Linked DNA regions of Homo sapiens: regions 1 and 2 are each linked to region 3. The links are contacts of gene promoters, found by promoter capture Hi-C in human tissues and cell types (Jung and others, 2019). All regions are on one chromosome and are shown on one strand. The core of a region is centred on a gene start or on the middle of the fragment in contact, and the rest is flanking DNA. Distances in the headings are between cores, read along the strand shown. Region 1 overlaps KIAA1671. Region 2 overlaps SNRPD3 (small nuclear ribonucleoprotein D3 polypeptide). Region 3 holds the start of SGSM1 (small G protein signaling modulator 1).

Region 1 (4,200 bases), core at 997-3,496, 220 kb before region 3:
TAAAAAGTGCCAGGTAAGTTGCTGTTCTCGATCCCCCAGGCTCTCTTCATGCCAGTGTTTTCTTCCCTGTGAAACTGCCCCCAGCCAGCCCCCACCTAGATGGACTAAAAAAGTAGAAGGTATTTTAGTTAAACACAAGCCTCTCCACTTCCCTTCCTTGGGGCCCCACACTGCTCCCCCGGCTCTGACTCACTCAGCAGCCTCCAGGAAAGAAAGGCAGACAGATTTTGATATTTTCTCTTCCTTACACGCTCGATGGTGCTAACAGATTCCATCTCCCCAAACTGGAGAACACTGTCTAGACACGGTTAGAGGTAGAATGGAGGGACAGATATGAAGAATCTGAGAATTGGAGAATTTCCATACACAAAGATCCCAACCAGAGTTCTAAGGCTCCAGAATCCCACCCAGAATCAGGGCCATTGGCCTTTTGGGAGAGCAGCTGTGACCTCTGGAAACCCTGATTGAGGATACATATGTAATAGCCAGGACATGAGACACAGAACAATGACAGGATTCAAAGGACAGAGAGAAAATTCTCTGGCAGAACTCACAGGCACTCTCCATGCCCTTGGACACTCCAGCCCTCAAGCTTGGGTCAAGCATGGGCCCCACTTACCCAAGCTGGCAGGCCCTGGGTCAGGGGGTGTGACTGCCGGGAAAAGCCAGTAGTGTCACATGTCATCATGAATGGGGCTGTCCACACACTTCCATGGCAGAAACAAGAAGGGGGAAAGAAGACTCGTCCCAGCAGGCTGAGTTTCAGCAGGTCTAAGGAGACACAGGATGACAGCCTCAGTTCCGGAGTTCTGGCAGTATGGGAACAGACGGCACAAAAGCTTTCAAGCTCCAAATGCATCCGCTGGCATCTACTCCAGCTTGTAAAACGTATGCTCCTTTTGGCTTTTCGATTTTGTAGCCTTATATGTACGTGTGCATAAATAGTGCTGAGCCCACAGTACGTGCTCAATAAAAATCTTCCCTGTTCTCTGATACATTTATTAAGCACCTACGGTGTGTACAAAGATGAGCATGAAACATCCCCTGCAACCATGCAACTCACAGTCTTCTGTAAGAAACACACATACACACACAAGCAATTACAACTGGGTAACAAATGTCACTTTTTAAATGCAGGATGTGGGGGCAAATAGGACTGATTGCCTAGAATTGGAACTGGTGGTCCTGCATAACTCACTTGACTTAGAGGAGGTAGCTACTGAGCATTCGAGGTGCTGACTCACTTGGTAGCTGCTACCAAGTGATGTGCTTCACTTGGTAGCTGCTACCAAGTGATGTGCTTCACTTGGTAGCTACATTAGCGGTATTTGGACATTGTACCTCTTTGAAGCCCTCCAAATGCCTCCTCAGGGCCTTTGCACATGCTATGCCTGTTCTCTGGGACAACCATCTTGCTCACACACAGACACAGACCACAGTTCACACATCTCTGTCTCCCTTCAACCCGGTACAACCCCCTCCTACCTGTTCACAGAGCACCACATACACTCGGAGGCTTGGCAGGACTTAGCATAGCTACACTGTTACATTTAATACGACATCATCCTTCACATCAGCCTCTCCCATTCAATGGTAAGCCCCGCCAGAGGACACCCCAAATCCCTAGTGGCTAGCACAGCAGCCTGGCACATAAAAGCACCAGATACATGATTACTGAATAGAGAAATAAATCATTGCTGAGTTAATAAGTAAATGAATGAAGAAATATTCTTCTGCCCCTGCTGCCCACTCTCTAAGATGCTAAATAAGTCCAGATACCATGAGTCTCATGCCAAATGACTCTAAGCAATCTGGGACATAAGATGAGTTACTCTAGCTGTGGCTGTGGCTACTGAATGACAGAATCAAAAAGCTGTGAAGTGCTCAGCCAGAGGCTCAATCCACCAATCCTCACCCAGGGACCCCTATCAGTTTCACAAGCCAGAGGCTCAATCTACCAACCCTCACCCAAAGACCTCTATCAGTTTCACTGGGCCACACAGAGGAGCTCCACCCCGAGGGCAGGCACCTGCTACATCCACATTAACCTCACACTGTCACACCAGCTCACCTGCCCAAATGTGGAATGAATGCTTCTCTGCATGGATTTTCCTGGGAAAAGAGTCACCAAGAGCAACTGTTTGCTGAATTAGGATCAATGGTACACAAATGTCACCCCACTTTGGGAACCTTGAACCCACCTCAGGGACTATACTGCATGGAAGTAAAAGGAGAAGGACAAGATAAATTAAGTCCCTTGGTCCACGCTCCTCTACACCAAACAGTGCCTCTGTGACCCGTCATCTGCTTTGTATCTTGAACTGCCTCTCAAGTTACCATTGCAAATGCCTAGCAGATGTCTGATATGTAAACACAGTTGCACAAATGAGTCAATGAATGAATTAATAAATCAATGAACAAAGAAAAGTAAAAGGAGTTTTTTGGGATTTTTTTTTTTTGAAACAGAGTTTCACTCTGTCACCCAGGCTGGAGTGCAATGGCGTGATCTCAGCTCACTGCAACCTCTGCCTCCCAGGTTCGAGCAATTCTCCCGCCTCAGCCTCCTGAGTAGCTGGGACTACAGGTGCATGCCACCACACCTGCCTGATTTTTATATTTTTGGTAGAGACGGGGTTTCACTATGTTGGCCAGGCTGGTCTTGAAATCCTGACTTTGTGATCCGCCCGCCTCGGCCTTCCAAAGTGCTGGGATTGAGCCACCGCACCCGGCCTAGTAAAAGGAGTTTTTAAACCACCATAGTAGATGGCTCCGTAATATTTTAAAGTCCTAGCCAAACCTAGAAACCTATGATTCTCAGGTTTTCATTTAACCTGCTGTAAAATACAGGGAAACCAATTTAACTGTATGCTTTGAAGTCTTCTTTTAAATGTTATCACATATGTTACACTTGATTTAAGAGATGTTAGCCTCTTTGAAAACCTTTCTGAAGCCCACTCACGGAGAGGCTAGATGCTGTTTATTCTTGGGGTGGACATGTCCACTATTTTTTATTTATTTTATTTTTTATTTTTATATTTTTAGACAGTCTCACTTTGTAGCCCAGGCTGGAGTCCAGTGGCACAATCTCGGCTCACTGCAAACTCCACCTTCCAGGTTCAAGTGATTCTCGTGCCTTAACCTCCGTGAAGCTGGGATTACAGGCACCTACCACCACATCTGGCTGTTTATTTATTTAGAGACAGAGTCTCGGTGTGTCACGCAGGCTAGAGTGCAATGGCACTATCTCAGCTCATTGCAACCTCCGCCTCCCAGGTTCAAGTGATTCTCCTGCCACAGCCTCCCAAGTAGCTGGGACTACAGGCACCCAGCACCACACCCAGCTAATTTTTTTTTGTATTTTTAGTAGAGACGGGGTTTCACCGTGTTAGCCAGGATGGTCTGGATCTCCTGACTTCGTAATCCGTCCGCCTCGGCCTCCCAAAGTGCTGGGATTACAGGCGTGAGCCACCGCGCCCGGCCTCGGCCTCTTTTTTAAACAGTGTATTAGCTGACCATTATGACCAAAGCCAAGTCAACAAGACCTCCCCAGAGAAAGAAGGGAAACCAAGTCTGAGCCACCTCTAGTTTCATATGTATGTAAATTATCATGGAGGGCAGCACGGTGAACAGATGGAGAACAAAGGCATCCATCTGGGAAGGTCAGGAGGCTGTGGCAGGACCGTGAGAGAGGGGACATCAGGCTGACCCCAGGCAGTGGGCTAGCAATGAGTGTTTCTCTACTGTTGCTGAACTTGCCAAGTCCACAAGCTTGATCTCCCCAAGCTTAATTTGCAAAGTGCAAGATTCCCATTTTCTGCTATTTCATGCAGGAAAAAAAATCATTTGTCTGAGAAGGGGGTCACCCAAGAGCAACAGGTGCTGAAATTCAACAGGAGTCATTCGAAAGCATTCATTTGTCCACTCTTGTGACCCTACTTCTGCCAATGCTCACTGCCTCCCTCCCAAGCACCAGGTTCTGTACTTGGTGCTGGGGACACAGCCACTGAGCTTGAAGCCTCACAAGAGAGAAGGGAAGAAAAGCACTTCCATTCAAAACCAAACAGTTTGGCAGCTTTTCTCCCAGATTCAGAGGTGTTGATTCATTCTAACAGCTGTTTAAGATCTTTCATAATTACACCCTTAAATTCGATCTGAGAGCTTATCAGTCATTTATTCAGTCGTCTCTGGCTGCCACCTCCT
Region 2 (3,944 bases), core at 351-2,850, 240 kb after region 3:
TACCAACTAAGGCCATCTACCTATCTTTGTTCTTAGGAAATACAAAAGTATTATGGGGTAGAGGAGCATGATGAATGCAATCCACACACAAACAGTACAGGAAAAAAAAAGTATACGATAAGTTTAAAAAACTGGTTTTCCTTCAACCTAGAGGGCTAGGTGTCTAAAGAAATTCAATTACATTGAATTCAGAGATTTCAAAAACTTTCCTAGCAATAGTTATGGGCAATTTTCTGACCCAATCATGTGAGAGCTTCTTTTGGGTTCTCATTTTTATACAGTGACACAAGACCATATTCCATACAGAGACCAGTTTTCCAAAGATGGCTATTATATGCCAAAGCCAACAAAACAGATTTCAAACAGTCCCATCAGTGATTGGGTGGTCATGTTGAAGCCCCAAAAGCACAATGTCTGCTTGTGCAGAGCTCTACACCACATTCTCCCACCAAAACTTCTAAGAATTAAGTCATTTTGAATGTAGTGAAATGGGTTTGACCATTACTCTCTGTATTTGCTTGTATCATTTATAATTTGGGTCCATTTTTATAAAACTGGGGACATATTTTGGAGTATTGTTATTTTTCTCACTTATGCCAACAGCATTTTGACCAACATGCCATATCCTGCAGCTGATGCCCTATCCTGCAGCACTGGCCACCAGTGCTTGGCTTGCAGCTGTCGGAATGAGAAGGAGAACAAAAGCTCCCTGCCTTCCCAGCTTAACCTCAGATGCACACCCTCTGACCCGATAAGCACCATTTCAGGGACCTCATCCTGAGTTTCACATACACATATTTCCTCTTCTTCCTTTAAAAAAAAAAATATATATATATATACACACACACACACATATATATACATACATATATACATACATACACACATACACACACACACACACACACACACACACACACACACATATATGAGACAGGGTCTCACTGTGTTGCCCAGGGTGGTCCCAAACTCTTGGGATCAAGTGATCCCCCTGGCCCAGCCTCCCAAAGTGCTGGGATTACAGGCATGAGCCAATGTGCCTGGCCATATTTTGCATTTTCAAATGTCAAAAACAGTGCTAAGATAACAGGATACTTTAAAACTACTTGAGGGACCATAAAAGGGTATTTTGTATGGGGATGTTGTCGAGGATATCATCTAATAGTGTCTCCTGTATCTGAGTGCCAGGGAAATCCACACAATTGCTATTTTAACTTAAGAACACTATGCATTTTGGAACTGATGATCTTCCCTGCTTAATCTTACACTGGAATATACCTTTATTCAATGTACAGAGAGATTCAGGTTTACATTTCTGGATACTGACTGCTTGGCTTCATTTTACATTCTACCCCAGCTTACCTGCACCATGATCTATGCATCTACTTTTATCCTGCCATAGAATTTTTTTAATTTTAGAGATAGGGTCTTGCTCTGTCACCCAGGCTGGAGTGCAGTGGTGCGACCAGAGCTTAATGCAGCCTGAACTGCTGGGTGGGCTCAAGTGATCCTTTTTGCCTCAGCCTATGGAGTAGCTGGGACTACAGGCATAAGCCATCACATCCAGATAATATATTTTTTATTTTTGGAGATGGAGTCTTGCTCTGTCGCCCAGGCTGGAGTGCAGTGGCGCGATCTTGGCTCATTGCAAGCTCTGCCTCCTGGGTTCACGCCATTCTCCTGCCTCAGCCTCCCGAGTAGCTGGGACTACAGGCGCCCGCCACCACACCTGGCTAATTTTTTGTATTTTTTTTAGTAGAGACAGGGTTTCACCGTGTTAGCCAGGCTGGTCTCAATCTCCTGACCTCGTGATCTGCCCGCCTCAGCCTCCCAAAGTGCTGGGATTACAGGCGTGAGCCACAGTGCCCAGCCCCACATCCAGATAATTTTTAAACTTTTTTGCTTTTCAGAAGAGACAGGGTCTAACTATTTCTGAAAGAGGATAGAATAAAAAGTAAATACTAAAACCCCAAAACAGGGCAGGTGTGGCTTAGGCCTGTAATTCCAATACTTTGGGAGGCCAAGGTGGGAGGATCGCTTAAGTCCAGGAGTGCAAGACTAGCCTGGGCAACAGAGTGAGATCCTCTATTTATCTTTTCCGAATCGTTGTGGTGTGCTTTTGTGTGTGTGTGAGACTAGGTCTCACTCCGTCGCCCAGGCTGGAGTGCAGTGGCACTCCATAGCTCACTGCAGCCTTGACTTCCTGGGCTCAAGTAATCGTCCCAACTCAGCCTCCACCTGAATGGCTGGGACTACAGGCATGTGCCACCACATCCGTCTATTTTATTTTTTTTACAGACAAAGTCTTGTCATGTTGCCCAGGTTGGTCTTGAACCCCTGGGCTCAAGTGATCCTCCTGCCTCAGCCTCTCAAAGTGTTGGGATTATAGGAGTAGCCACCACATTTTGTCCCACCCCACTTTTATAACAGAAAATGTTATTGAACAAGCAAGGAAAAGTGCTAAGAGGATGTTCTCATTCCCAAAAGGCAGAATGACTGGATCTGGGAAGGACAGGCAAGCCTCACAGCCTGAGATGTGCTGAACAAACTAAACTGTGCTCAGAGTTCACCCACCACCAGCTTTAGCTACGCCACAGTCTGCTGGCTCTTATTCAATGTGCCTAGGTTTTGATAGACCCAGTGAGGCCTCTACATCCTGTTACAGGCTAAATTGTATCCCTCAAAAAAATTCATTGTTGAAGTCCTAATACCCAGCACCTCAGAATGTGATCATATTTAGAGACAAAAAATCTTTACAGGCCAGATGTGGTGGCTCATGCCTGTAATTCCAGGAGTTTGAGAGACTGAGGCAGCAGGATCACTTGTGGCCAGGAGTTTGAAACTGGCCTGAAAAACATATCAAGACTCCGTCTCTACAAAAAAATTTAAAAATTAGCCAGGTATGGTGGGGCACACTGGTAGTCCTGGATACTTAGAAGACTGAGGTGAAAAGATCTCTTGAGCCCAGAAGTCCAAGGCTGCCCATGAGCTATGATCAAACCACTGCACCCCAGCCTGGTCAACAGACCAAAGCTTAATCTCAAAAAAAAAAAAAAAAAAAAAAAAAGAAAAGAAAAAGGAAAAGAAAAAAAAGGCTGGGTGCAGTGGCTCATGCCTGTAATCCTAGCACTTTGGGAGGCCAAGGTGGGCAGATTGCCTCAGCTCAGGAGTTAGAGACCAGCCTGGGCAACATGATGAGCCTCCATCTCTATTAAAAATACAAAAAATATTAACATTAGTGGGGTACGGTGGCCCATGCCTATAACCCCAGCTACTCAGGAGGCTGAGGCAAGAGAGTTGCTTAAACCCGGGAAGACGGAGGTTTGCAGTGAGCTGAGATTGTGCCACTGTACTCCAGCCTGGACAACAGAGCAAGATTCTGTCTCAAAAAAAAAAAAAAAAAAAAAAAAAAAAAAGGCCAGGTGCAGTGGCTCACGCCTGTAATCCTAGCACTTGGGAGGCTGAGGCAAACTCAGGAGTTTGAGACCAGCCTGGGCAACATGGGGAAACCCTATCTCTACTAAAAATACGAAAAACTAGCTGGGCATAGTCCCAGCTACTCAGGAGGCTGAGGCATGAGAAGTGCTTGAACCCAGGAGGCAGAGGTTGCAGTGAGCTGAGATCATGCCACTGCACTCCAGCCTGGGCGACAGAGTGAGACTCTCAAAAAAAAAAAAAAAAAAAAAAAAAAAAAAAAAAAAAAGCAAGCAAGCTGGGCATGGTGGCTCACATCTGTAATCCCAGCACTTTGGGAGGTCGAGGCGAGCAGATCACAAGGTCAGGAGTTCGAGACCAGCCTGGCCAATATGGTGAAACCTGTCTCTACTAAAAATATAAAAATACAAAAATTAGCTGGGCATGGTGGCAGATGCCTGTAGTCCCAGCTACTCAGGAGGCTGAGGCAGGAGAATCGCTTGAACCTGGAAGGCAGAGGTTGCAGTGAG
Region 3 (3,955 bases), core at 1-2,500:
ATCACTCATTCACAGACTCATGCACCACACAATATACACACACAGACCCACCCTCACAAAAACAGATACAAAGACACACATAGATACGTGTACACACAGTGCAAAGAGATACACTTAGGTATCTCCAGACAGATGCACAGACATTCTCATACGCACACACTCACAGCCACAGGTCCTCACCCATGCAGGTATACACACCAGAGCACGCAGTCCAGGCATCGAGATGCTACCCCAAGGACTATAAATTCTGTCTATGGGGTTCTGGGAGGTCATTGGCCATGAGCCCTAAAGACTAGACTGCCCCCCTCTCCACGCGCTGACCCCAAGGAGAGTGGAGGGGCAGAGGAATGGCAGAACCTCTCTGATTCTCACCCTCTGAATGTGGGGTGGGAGTGGGGCGGGGGGAGTGAAGGGACCCCTACTGCCAGGGGAGCAGCTCACTGACCCGTGACTCTCAGGGAGGGAGTCCCCTGGCTCTTGGAGGTGGCTCCAAGGACTGAGAATTCGGGGGCTGGGAAGGGAGGTTTTATTTTCCTTCTGCCTTTTCCTGAAGCGTGCCCCACCTTCGGCAGCCCCATTCAGAGCCCCTCCTCCAGCACACCCTGTGGGGGGCGTCCCCCTAGCAGCTTCTCTCTCTTGGAAGGTCCCCTTCCTGAGCCGCGCCCACCTGCTCCTCCACAAGAGGAGGTCCTATCGGGATACATCCAGGTGTGCCCCACACCTGGAGGGCCCTCACGCTACATCCGCCCCCGCAAAAAGCCTCAAATGGGCCAAAGCCTCCCCACACCTACGCCCACCCCCAAACTCCCTCGCTGCGCCTCCTGCCCTGCGGGAGGTCAATGCCCACCCAGGTGAGCCCCACACCTGTTCTGGCCGCCCCCCCGCCGCCAGAGGCCACCCTTCCACGAAGACTCTTTTCCCGTTTGGCCGCTGCTGCCGGGGGAGTCCTGCCCAGTGCCCCCACCCCGGCACCCACCTCCTTCTTGACGGTGCGTAGCAGCCTCTGTCGGGTCTCCGCCTCTGTGGGACAAGAAACGAGAGCCGCGGGTCAGCCGAGAGAGGGTGCGGGGGCCGGGCGCTGCCCTCCCGCCGCCCTCGTGTCCAGCGGCCTCTTACCCGCGGGGGCCGAGGCCATGGCTCCGAGCGCTGCGTTCCGAGTCCCAGGAGGCGGTGGCGGCGGTGGCGGCGGTAGCTCCTCCGGCCGCGGCGCTGCTGCTGCAGCCGCGGCGGGGCGGGGCCGAGCGCTGAGTGACGGCCGGAGGGCGCCCGACGTCAGGACCCGAGGCGGCCGCCCCACCCCTCCGGAAAGCCACCGCTCGGCGGGGCAGCCGGGTCGCCTGCGCCAGGAGCCTTCGCGCCAAGCACGCACGCTCCCTCCCGCGCACCCAGCGCCCGAGCCTCTCAGGCTCCCCCAACCTCCACGCCAGCGCCCGCGTCCCTCCCTCTTCCCTAGGGCGGGGAAGGAAAGCGTCCGTCCTGAACCCTCCTCTGTGGGCCAGGCTCCAGGAAGTCACAGGAAATGGTGGGGCTACTACCGATATTCTCCAAGCCTCAGTTTTCTCATCTTTAAAATGGGTATAATGTGGTATAAAATGGGCATAATGGGTCTCAGAACGATCTGAGCCTTAAGTGAGATATTGGATGTGAAGCCCTTAATACAGACCCAGGGGGAAAGGCCAGCGAGCATAAATGCTTGCCACTGTTACTGTTATTATTATTAATTATTATTATTGAGGGTCTTCCAGCCGGTCGCGGTGGCTCACGCCTGTAATCCCAACACTTTGGGAGGCCGAGGCGGGCAGATCACTTGAGGTCAGGAGTTCGAGACCAGCCTGGCCAACATAGTGAAACCCCGTCTCTACGAAAATACAAAAATTAGCCGGACATGATGGCGAGCTGCCTGTAATCCCAGCTACTGGGGAGGCTAAGGCAGGAGAATCTCTTGAACCCGGGAAGCAGAGGTTACAGTGATCCAACATGGCGCCATTGCACTCCAGCCTGAGCGACAGAGTGAGACTCCGTCTCAAAAAATAAAAAAAATACAAATACAAAAATTAGCCAGGCATGGTGGCGTGCTCCTGTAATCCCAGCTACTCAGGAGGCTGAGGCATGAGAATTGCTTGAACCCTGGAGGCAGAGGTGTCAGTGAGCCAAGATTGTGCCACCACACTCCAGCCTGGGCAACAAAAGTGAAACTCCATCTCAAAAAAAAAAAAAAAAAAAAGAGTCTTCCAAGATACACTGGTTATCCATTCAGGAGAGGCCGGGACTTAAGTGGCTCCCTCCCCGACATGCAGGTCACTGGAGGAGTGGGGTTTTCCCAGGAGTCTGGCCCCAAAAGGAGGCACTTGTCAGCCAGGATCTCTGGGGCTGAGCAAGCAGTGGGCTCTGTGGGAAAAGCCTTGTTCCATCAAGAGCCCCTGGTCACCCCAAGTCCCTAACTGTATCCACCCAGAATGCAACTCAGGTCAATATTTATTGAGCACCTACTCTGTGCCAAGTGACTGTGCTAGAGATTTCTAAGTGAGCAAGACAGACAATGAACTCTGCCCTCATGGAGTTTAGGAGGCGGACAACAAAATATGTAAGAAAAGGACAGACCATGCTGGAAAGTTCTGGAGAAAAATTAAGTAGGCAAGGGGGACAGGGAGGGCCCAGACCCCTGGGGATCGTATTCTGAAGTAGGGTGGTTGAGGGAGGCCCCACTGAGCAGGTGACATTTAAGCAAAGAGGAAAAGGAGTAGGCCATGGGGATTTCTGGAGGAAGAGCAGTTGAGTCAAGGGAACAGCAAATGCAAAGTCCCTGAGGAGGGAGTGTGTCCAGTCAAACAGTGACAAATAGCACAGATGCCTGTGGGGCTGGAGTGGTGTGAACAATGGGGACGGTGGTGGGATGTTGGCCAGAGAGGTGCAGGGCCAAAACCCTGTATGACTTTGATGGTGATGTTAAGGATTTGCAATGCCTTTTAGGGTCCCCCAGTATTCAGGCCTTCCTTCAGAAGGACTAGAGGGCAGCTTAGAGTGCCTCTCCGTGCAGCAGTGGATCCAGAGCCCCCTTTTTTCCATTGGTCAGTGTCAGGGGTCTCTGGCCGTAAGCCACAGAAGCTGACTTTGGCTTCCTCAGGCAAAAGGAAATAAACTGGGAAGATAATATGTGATCCCAGAGCCCATGGGAGCCTGGAGAACTGGGAAATGGGATGAAATCAAGGTGGCTCTGGAAGGCCAGAAAGGGGAATCTTGGGAATATTTGCCTGGCAAGGACAGTGTGGTTAGGGCACTGCTGCTCTGGTAAAGAGAATGCCATTCGTTTAAGGTTTTCATCCTATGGAGGGAGTGCCTGATTGTCCTGACCTGGGACACAAGCCTGCCCATTGGCTTGGGGAGAGGTGTCTCAATCACAAACCCCTGCTCCACAATCTCCAGCAAGTCCCCCAGGAGAATGGGAAATGGTTGCTTGGCAGCAAAAATAATCATATATTGCGCACCTACTATGTGGCAGGCACTGCGCTAAGGGCTTTGGGTTTTGCTCACATGATCTTATTGACCCTCCTTCCACCCCACGCTAACCCTATGAGCCTTATGTCATTGACAAAGCCAAGCCTGGAGGGGGTTTCATCCCTGTTTGTTTAACAAGTGTGTGGCCGCCAGGATTCTGACCTGAGGACCAAAGTGATTGATCCATTAGTTCCTCTCCTTGGCTTCACCCCTAAGTTAACTGGGGTACTTTAGGAAGGTGGTAGGGTGCCTAAGCCTCACTCTAGGGAATCATTTTTCAAAACCCACATTTTTCCTTTTCCTGCCAAGCACAAAGTCTGGGAAGTTGACCTGTGCTGGTCCTTGAAAACCTGGAGCTTTTCCTCCAAGATAAAGGACTCCATGGTGTTTGGTGCAGTTGCAACTGGCAGGAGGGCATGGTTGACCTGCATGCAACTCAGGTCAACAGATATTTATGAAC

What was found. The method cuts DNA at HindIII sites, captures the fragments that hold promoters and counts their contacts. A contact is called where the count stands out against the background at its distance.
Region 1: a fragment that was not itself captured here is called in contact with the fragment with the promoter of SGSM1 in region 3 in 2 of the 25 tissues and cell types used here (IMR-90 fibroblasts and heart right ventricle).
Region 2: a fragment that was not itself captured here is called in contact with the fragment with the promoter of SGSM1 in region 3 in 1 of the 25 tissues and cell types used here (dorsolateral prefrontal cortex).

The regions. Positions count from the first base shown.
Region 1 is chr22:25,022,204-25,026,403 of GRCh38, reverse strand. It overlaps KIAA1671, which reads right to left. Exons shown (of 13, transcript NM_001145206.2): 2 at 620-771. Among named protein-coding and RNA genes, the nearest start is that of KIAA1671, 72 kb to the right of the region's middle. RefSeq lists an enhancer at 1-456. The HindIII fragment of the contact is 3,060 bases long and covers 717-3,776 here.
Region 2 is chr22:24,560,188-24,564,131 of GRCh38, reverse strand. All of the region lies in intron 2 of SNRPD3 (small nuclear ribonucleoprotein D3 polypeptide), which reads right to left. Among named protein-coding and RNA genes, the nearest start is that of SNRPD3, 6.2 kb to the right of the region's middle. RefSeq lists an enhancer at 1,718-2,219. The HindIII fragment of the contact is 9,525 bases long and covers 1-3,944 here.
Region 3 is chr22:24,803,506-24,807,460 of GRCh38, reverse strand. SGSM1 (small G protein signaling modulator 1) reads right to left here and starts at 1,250. Exons shown (of 25, transcript NM_001098497.3): 1 at 1,117-1,250; 2 at 977-1,020. The coding sequence starts at 1,135. RefSeq lists a silencer at 1,203-1,412. The HindIII fragment of the contact is 18,100 bases long and covers 1-3,955 here.